Regions from separate parts of the Homo sapiens genome. Here region 2 is linked to region 1. The links are contacts of gene promoters, found by promoter capture Hi-C in blood cells and fetal thymus (Javierre and others, 2016). All regions are on one chromosome and are shown on one strand. Each heading gives the region's core, a stretch centred on a gene start or on the middle of the fragment in contact. The rest is flanking DNA. Distances are from core to core; before and after follow the strand shown. Region 1 holds the start of ZNF319 (zinc finger protein 319). Region 2 holds the start of ARL2BP (ARF like GTPase 2 binding protein).

What was found. The method cuts DNA at HindIII sites, captures the fragments that hold promoters and counts their contacts. A CHiCAGO score of 5 or more calls a contact.
Region 2: a contact is called between the fragment with the promoter of ARL2BP here and the fragment with the promoter of ZNF319 in region 1, in 2 of 17 cell types (total B cells and neutrophils). The highest score is 5.1, in total B cells.

The regions. Positions count from the first base shown.
Region 1 is chr16:57,999,278-58,002,576 of GRCh38, forward strand. ZNF319 (zinc finger protein 319) reads right to left here and starts at 1,395. Exons shown (of 2, transcript NM_020807.3): 1 at 216-1,395. It overlaps USB1 (U6 snRNA biogenesis phosphodiesterase 1), which reads left to right and starts at 2,130. Exons shown (of 7, transcript NM_024598.4): 1 at 2,130-2,304; 2 at 3,202-3,299. The coding sequence starts at 2,207. RefSeq lists enhancers at 479-748, 1,606-1,775, 1,948-2,242, 2,269-2,368 and silencers at 869-998, 1,049-1,648, 1,939-2,188. The HindIII fragment of the contact is 9,268 bases long and covers 1-3,299 here.
Region 2 is chr16:57,243,820-57,247,201 of GRCh38, forward strand. It overlaps ARL2BP (ARF like GTPase 2 binding protein), which reads left to right and starts at 1,440. Exons shown (of 6, transcript NM_012106.4): 1 at 1,440-1,586; 2 at 2,261-2,322. The coding sequence starts at 1,549. LOC124903697 (a long non-coding RNA gene) reads right to left here. Exons shown (of 2, transcript XR_007065082.1): 2 at 1,996-3,382. RefSeq lists silencers at 1,159-1,538, 1,629-1,838. The HindIII fragment of the contact is 5,456 bases long and covers 1-2,325 here.

The sequences.
Region 1 (3,299 bases), core at 145-2,644:
CCTAAATCCTCTGAATCTCATAGTGTCAAGGCCTGCAGGAAAATGTAAGAAACTGCCCTGGTCTGCCTTGGCAATGCAGGATGCAGCATGCTAACCACAGAGCATTTCTCATCACCTCTCTAGAGACAACTCCATTCCCTTACTCCAAGCCTATAAAGTTCTGGGTAATTGTTGGAAGGTAAAGCCCACCCAGCCCAGGCAAATCTCTAACTCACCACTTTGTGGCAGCATGAGGTAATGCCAGCGAGAGGGAGGAACTTTCAGAGTCAGATGCAACCCACTTCCAGGTTCCCAGCTCATCTGCCTCTTACATTTAAAAGTTTGTAAGTTTTCTCCTGAGCAGAGGAAGAAGGAAGGAGAAGCCTTCACAGGACAGTCTGGCCTCTAACTGCTCTGCCAAAGAAATGTAAGAGTCAGGCTAAAAGCTGTCATCCTCAGCATCTTCCGGAAGGGAGGGAGGAGAGGAGCGGCTGCTCTGGGTGGAGGCAGCAGGTTGCTTGAGCAAGCAGGTACCACTCTAAGCCTTCTCGGGACAGAGAGGGGGAAGGTGGGCTTCTCTGAGCGCCTGTAGGTCCGCTGTGCCAACCCACTGTTTTGTTTGCTTTTTCTGGCATGAATGGCTGTCAGACAGTGTCCCCTGGCTTGGTCTGCAGCACCCCCTGCCCACCCTGGCCCTCCTGCAGCAAGGTGCAGCCAGGAAGCCTCTGTGATCACTCCGCAAAGGGGAGAGAGGAGGCAAGGAGAGGCAGGGGAGGCCCCCCACCTGCGCCCCACCCCGTCTCTTCTTCCTCCCTGAGAAACCGAATGAAAGCCGATCACCTCCCGCCGGCCCTGCCTGCAGGCCCAGCTGGGCTGCGTCCTGTCAGCCCTCGTCCGGGATGGCCCGGCCGCTGCGACCCGAGGGCGAGCCCCGAGGGCGGCCGGGCTGGAGAAAGGCCCCAGGGCTACAGGCCGGGCCCAGGAAGCGGCTGCGCCTCGAGGCCCGGCCTGGGCCGCCCAGAAGCTCAAGAGGCCGCTAGGTCGCGGCGGAGGGGCGCGGGGGGGCGGCCGGGCCGGCAGAGGAAGGGGTGCGGCGGGCGCGGGGGTGGCCCCCAGATGCGGCCCCGGGCGCCCCGCCGCTCACCTGCTCCAGGCCGCCTGCAGGGCAGGCGCGGGGCGAGCGGCGACCAGCTGCTCTCTCGGCCGCCCCTTTATTCCGGCTCCATCCGCGGCGGCGCGGCCTACGCGCGCTGCCAATCCCCGGCCTCGCGTAGCGGCTGCGGCCGGACCGGGGGCGGGGGACGGGCTAGCGGCGGCCGGAACGGAGGAAGCGACGCGCGCTGCCGGAGTAGCGGGGCCGGGGCGAGGAGCGCCGGGAGGGCGGGCGGACGGACCGATGGCCTTGCGGAGACGGGCGGACGGGCGGGCGGCGCGGGGGCCAGGGAGGCGGGGCCGGGGGAGGAGCGGCATCCCGGGCGGCGGCGGCCAATGCGGGAGGAGCGGGCGGCGCGGAGCGAGGCCGCCCCCTGCCGGGGACCCCGTGGCCGGGCCAGGTCGGACAAGCCGGGTGCTCCGGGCGGTTTTCGAGTCGCCAGGCCTGGGCGCCTCGACTAACCGAGGAAGGGCGCTCTGCTTCCGGCCACCCCGCTCGGGCTTAGGGGAGGGGGCTCCGGGTGACCGCCCTCGGCCCGGCTCTGCGCAGGAGAGGAGGGGCCTCCTAGAGGCTCTGGTCTGCCACAATTGATCCGCCCCTAACTGCTCAGCTTGGCTTTTAGGGGCTTGGACTTTGGGCTGGTTTGAGGAGGGGGCTCCAGGACCTCTGATCCTGGCCGGGCTCGGGGCAGGCAGGGGTCTCCGCTGGGTCTAGTGCGCTGACCCGGGACTGTCGTGTCTGGTATGTCTGGTCCCGGGTGGCTGCAGACAGCAGCGGGCAGAAAGGTGAGGGCCCTGAGCGATATATGAAATGGGTACACGAAGGCTGGGGAGGTCCCAGCGGGGTGCCGGGAGGCTGCAGGTGACCAGATCCGCGTGCGCAGCCGGCAGACAGCTTGGAGTCGGTGGGCTGAATCTTCACCACTGTCCTGCCGGGTTCCGCCCCTCCCGGCTCCGCCCCGAGGCGGTGCCAGCCCAGGCCCCGCCCCTGGGAGGGCGCTTCCGGCACAGCGGAACTCCGGGTGCCGGTTGAGGTTGCTGGTGGACCTGCTCTGGTGGTCTTGGATGAGGCCCCATGAGCGCGGCGCCCCTGGTGGGCTACAGCAGCAGCGGCTCCGAGGATGAGTCCGAGGACGGGATGCGGACCAGGCCGGGGGATGGGAGCCACCGTCGGTGAGGAGTGAGGAAGTCTCTCCGGAGGGCGCGCGCATTCACCCTAGAGCCAGACGGGACCCGAATGTCTGGGGGTGGAGTGGGGAGGGAGGATGCGGGGCGGCTCTGGGAAGGAAAAGGGGACGCAGGAAGAAAGGAGGATCCAGAAGATATACCCCTCCCCCCCACCCCAGACAAAGCTCCAGAGTGGCCCCACCTGGCTAGGGCCAAGTTGGGAGGCCAGACCTGGGTTCGGGTCCAGCCTCGCGCTGGCCCACTCTATCGCCTGGCACACATCCCTGTACCATCCTAGGTCCGTTTCCTGATTTGAATACAATTGCGATAGTAATACTTGCTAAAGCGTAGGGAGAGCCTTTTCATTCATCCAGTAAATATTCACTGAGCACCCACTCCCTGCCAGGCTGGGGTCTGGTAATTCAGTGGTGAACAAAACCGTCGGCCTTACTTCCTGGGGCTTAGATTCTTAAATGCTAGGCCTTATCTTTGCTGAGTGCTTTACAAGCAGTAGCTCAGTTGATCCCACAATTGCTCTATCAGGTAGACATATACTTTCAGATGAGGCATTTGAGGCCCAGAAAGGGGACATGACTTGCCCAAGGTCATAGAGCTAGAAAGTGCTACTCCAGCTGCAGCCTGTCCAGCTTGGAAATGTGACCCCTGAACCACATTGTTGCATGCCCTGTTGTTTCCCATGGGGACCTTGTGCCCCAGAGTTGGAGACCCCAATGAGACAATACTGGAGAAACAATTTCGCTATCTAGAAGCTGCTTCCAGCACCAGGCTGGAAACACACACTCAGAGCCACCATATATAAGGGGTTACAACTTTTGTGGTATATACAAAGGTAGAGAATGCTAACAGGATAAATGTACTCATTTTTCTTTTTTTCTTTTGCAGTGGCCAGAGCCCCCTTCCCAGGCAGAGATTTCCAGTACCTGACAGTGTGCTGAACATGTTCCCGGGCACCGAGGAGGGGCCTGAAGATGACAGCACAA
Region 2 (3,382 bases), core at 190-2,689, 760 kb before region 1:
AGGAGAATCGCTTGAAACCGGTAGGCGGAGGTTGTGTTGAGCCGAGATTGCACCATTGCACTCTAGCCCGGGCAGTAAGAGCGAAACTCCATCTCAATAAATAAATAAATTAGTAATAATTTATGTCACCTTGGTCACAGCTGTCACACCCGACTGTGTCTTTGTAACCATCTTTGTTTCAGATCCCACGGATATCTATTTTAAGTCCATTCAAAGATGTCTGCTAGGCCGGTTGTGGTGGCTCACACCTGTAATCCTAGCCCTTTTGGAGGCCAAGGTAGGTGGATCATCTGAGGTCAGGAGTTCGAGACCAGCCTGGCCAACATGGTGAAACCCTGTCTCTACTAAAAATTCAAAAATAGCCGGGCATAGTGGCACGTACTTGTAATCCTAGCTACTCGGGAGGCTGAGGCACGAGAATCGCTTGAACCTGGGAGGCGGAAGTTGTAGCCAGCCGAGATCGTGCCACTGCCCTCCAGCCTGGGCGACAGAGCAAGACTCCGTCTCAAAAAAATAAAAAATGTCTGCTAACCCATTCTGACTGGCCACCTGACCCTCAGTTCATACCTTAAACCCCTCTAGTTCCTCTAGTCATATACCACACTTTGGCCATAAGGTATCATGCAACTAAAGAGACACAATGCTTAGTTGTCCAATCAAGAGAAATCAGCTCAAACGAATCCTTTTTCAAAGTTTGGCAGTTTTGAAGAGGCCTTTTCCTGAAAGGTATCTGATTCCTGATTGCGTGGCTCAAAATAGTTCTTCAATTCTCATCTTGTATAATTAGTCAAGAAACCAATTACTGCCGAGTAATCTTTATGATGCGAAGATTATAACGTAAATTACAGGACATCGACTTCTTGCGATGGGGCTTTCCTTCCACGAGGGGTAGGAACTGTCTTGAAATCAGACGTCAGCATCACCTGGTTCAAGGGATAAGGGACTGGCTCTCCAGCGACTTGGCAACTTACAAGCGCTCTTTAAACACGCCTTAAACTACTTATTTAATCCTCCACACTCAGGGAGGCGCAATTTATTCTCGAGTTGCGAGTGAGGAAATTCTGGCTCGTGGCTTCGATTCCTTCATCCGTACAATGGGGGCGACTTGAGACGGAGTTCCCACACAACGGGTGCTCGCCGAAGCGCCGCATCCCTCCGCACTCCCTTCCGGGACTTCCTCTCCCTGTCTTGCCCCGCCCCGGCATCGGTAACGCTCGCCTGTGATTGGATGCCGGCCGGCCGTGAGGCGGTGGAAGGGGTTGCGGTGGCCATGGTGACAGGAGGCGGGGCGCCGCGCCCCTCCGGCAGTCACCGAGGCCCGGACCTGCGGCGTCGGCGGCGCGCGCAGAGGGCCAGGCGGGCGTAGAGGCCGGACCGACGCGTGGCGGCAGAGGGTATCCAAGGCCGGACCTGGCGCGCAGGCGCTGACCCGACCTGGCAGTGAGCTGGCCGCGGCCTTGGCTGAGAGGCCTTAACCCCGCCGGGCGGCCGCGCCCTGCATGCGAGTTGGGCCGCGGGCGGGGTTGGAGCCTACTCGGGGCGACTGCGATGGACGCCTTAGAAGGAGAGAGCTTTGCGCTGTCTTTGTGAGTAGCTCCTCCAGGGCGCAGGCGACTTGGGGCCGGAGGCAGCGGGCGTTCGCCCCGGGGCCTGACCCTATAAAACAGGTGTCCTTAGGGGCCGGGCCGGGCCGGGCCGGGCAGGGTGGGGGCCGCCAAGGCGCCGTCCCAGCTCCAGGCCTTCCTTTTGTAGAGTACTAAGGCTGCAGGTTTCAGGCCCCGCAGGACAGGAGTGCGAGGCGGGTGTCACCGTTGATCAGCGCCTCCATCACAATCCCCAGCCGCCAACCCTCAGCTGTCAGCAAAGCCTGGAGGGGTTGAGCGCCCGAGGCCCCTCCACCCCTCCCTGGCCCCCGCCTCCCGGACTCCTGACCAAATGACCCCCCCCGGCAGGTGTTTCGCCCGTGCCGGGTTCATGCTCACAAGCAGACAGGTATGGGGTGATAGCTAAGAGCCTGGAGAACAAGTTTTTATTAAAGTGGAGTCATGACATTGAACGTTCATGTCACAAACGTGCCGAGTGTGTTTTCTTCTGTTTGGACTTACTAGATCAGTCAGTCATTCTTAATCGTTGAAGATGGGTGATGGGAAGTTCGTTTTGCTACTCTTTTTTCTCTTGTGCATGTTTGAAAACGTCCATACTAAAAACATTTTTTTAATGCATTATTTGAAATAGCACCTAATCCAGGCATGTTTTTCAGCTCCTCCGCCTCTGATGCAGAATTTGATGCTGTGGTTGGATATTTAGAGGACATTATCATGGGTAAGCTTTTAAGATACTGTTTTTAAGGACTTGCTTGTTTCTTTAAGGACATTGAAATCAATTTGGAGAGTTAATTTTAAAAAGAGAAAACATCAAGCTGCCTGCAATTTTTAATGTAGCACAATGTAATACTTAAGTAAAGGCTTACTGCAGTTTGTCTTAGAAACAAACAGCCCAGTACTCCTGAAAACATCTAATAAGCATAGATTCAGAGGCTGGAAGGGACTGACTCAGGCTAATAGGGCACCAGCAGTGTGGCGTTCTTCGCAAAACTATAGGAAATAATGATCTACTCTATTTCTTATGTAGGGTAAGAGCAATTTCAATTTTAGATAGTTTTGAGTTTTAACATTTTCATGCCATAAAACACATAAAACCAGGCCAGGTGCGGTGGCTAACGCCTGTAATCCCAGCACTTTGGGAGGCCGAGGTGGGCGGATCACGAGGTCAGGAGATCAAGACCATCCTGGCTAACACGGTGAAACCCTGTCTCTACTAAAAATACAAAAAAAATTAGCCGGGCGTGGTAGCGGGCGCCTGTAGTCCCAGCTACTCAGGAGGCTGAGGCAGGAAAATGGCGTGAACCTGGGAGGTGGAGCTTGCAGTGATCCGAGATCGTGCCACTTCACTCCAGCCTGGGCGACAGAGCGAGACTCCGTCTGGAAAAAATAAAAATGAAAATAAACACATAAAACCATAACCATAAGCACACATGGCCATAAAGAAAACAAGGTATTAAGCTTCAGCTGGTTCTGTATTTTCCTAGGTTTTGAGTTCCTACTTGTGGATGTATTTGGGCATCCATGAAACCTGCTAAGTAACAGAGAAGCAGTAACAGTCCCCAGAGGTTTAAGACAAGTATGTAGGAGGGGAAAACTTACATTTGAGAAAATTCTGTTGACTTTAAGTTTTATGAGAATTGAGAAAAGAACACTGTTATTTGGTGTTATTGGCTGTATGGCTTAATCCATTTAGAATGAAAATTACTGACCAAGTTTTTATACCTTCAGGTATAAAGGTTCATGCCCTTAACTCCTGAATATAGATGTTTCATCATTAA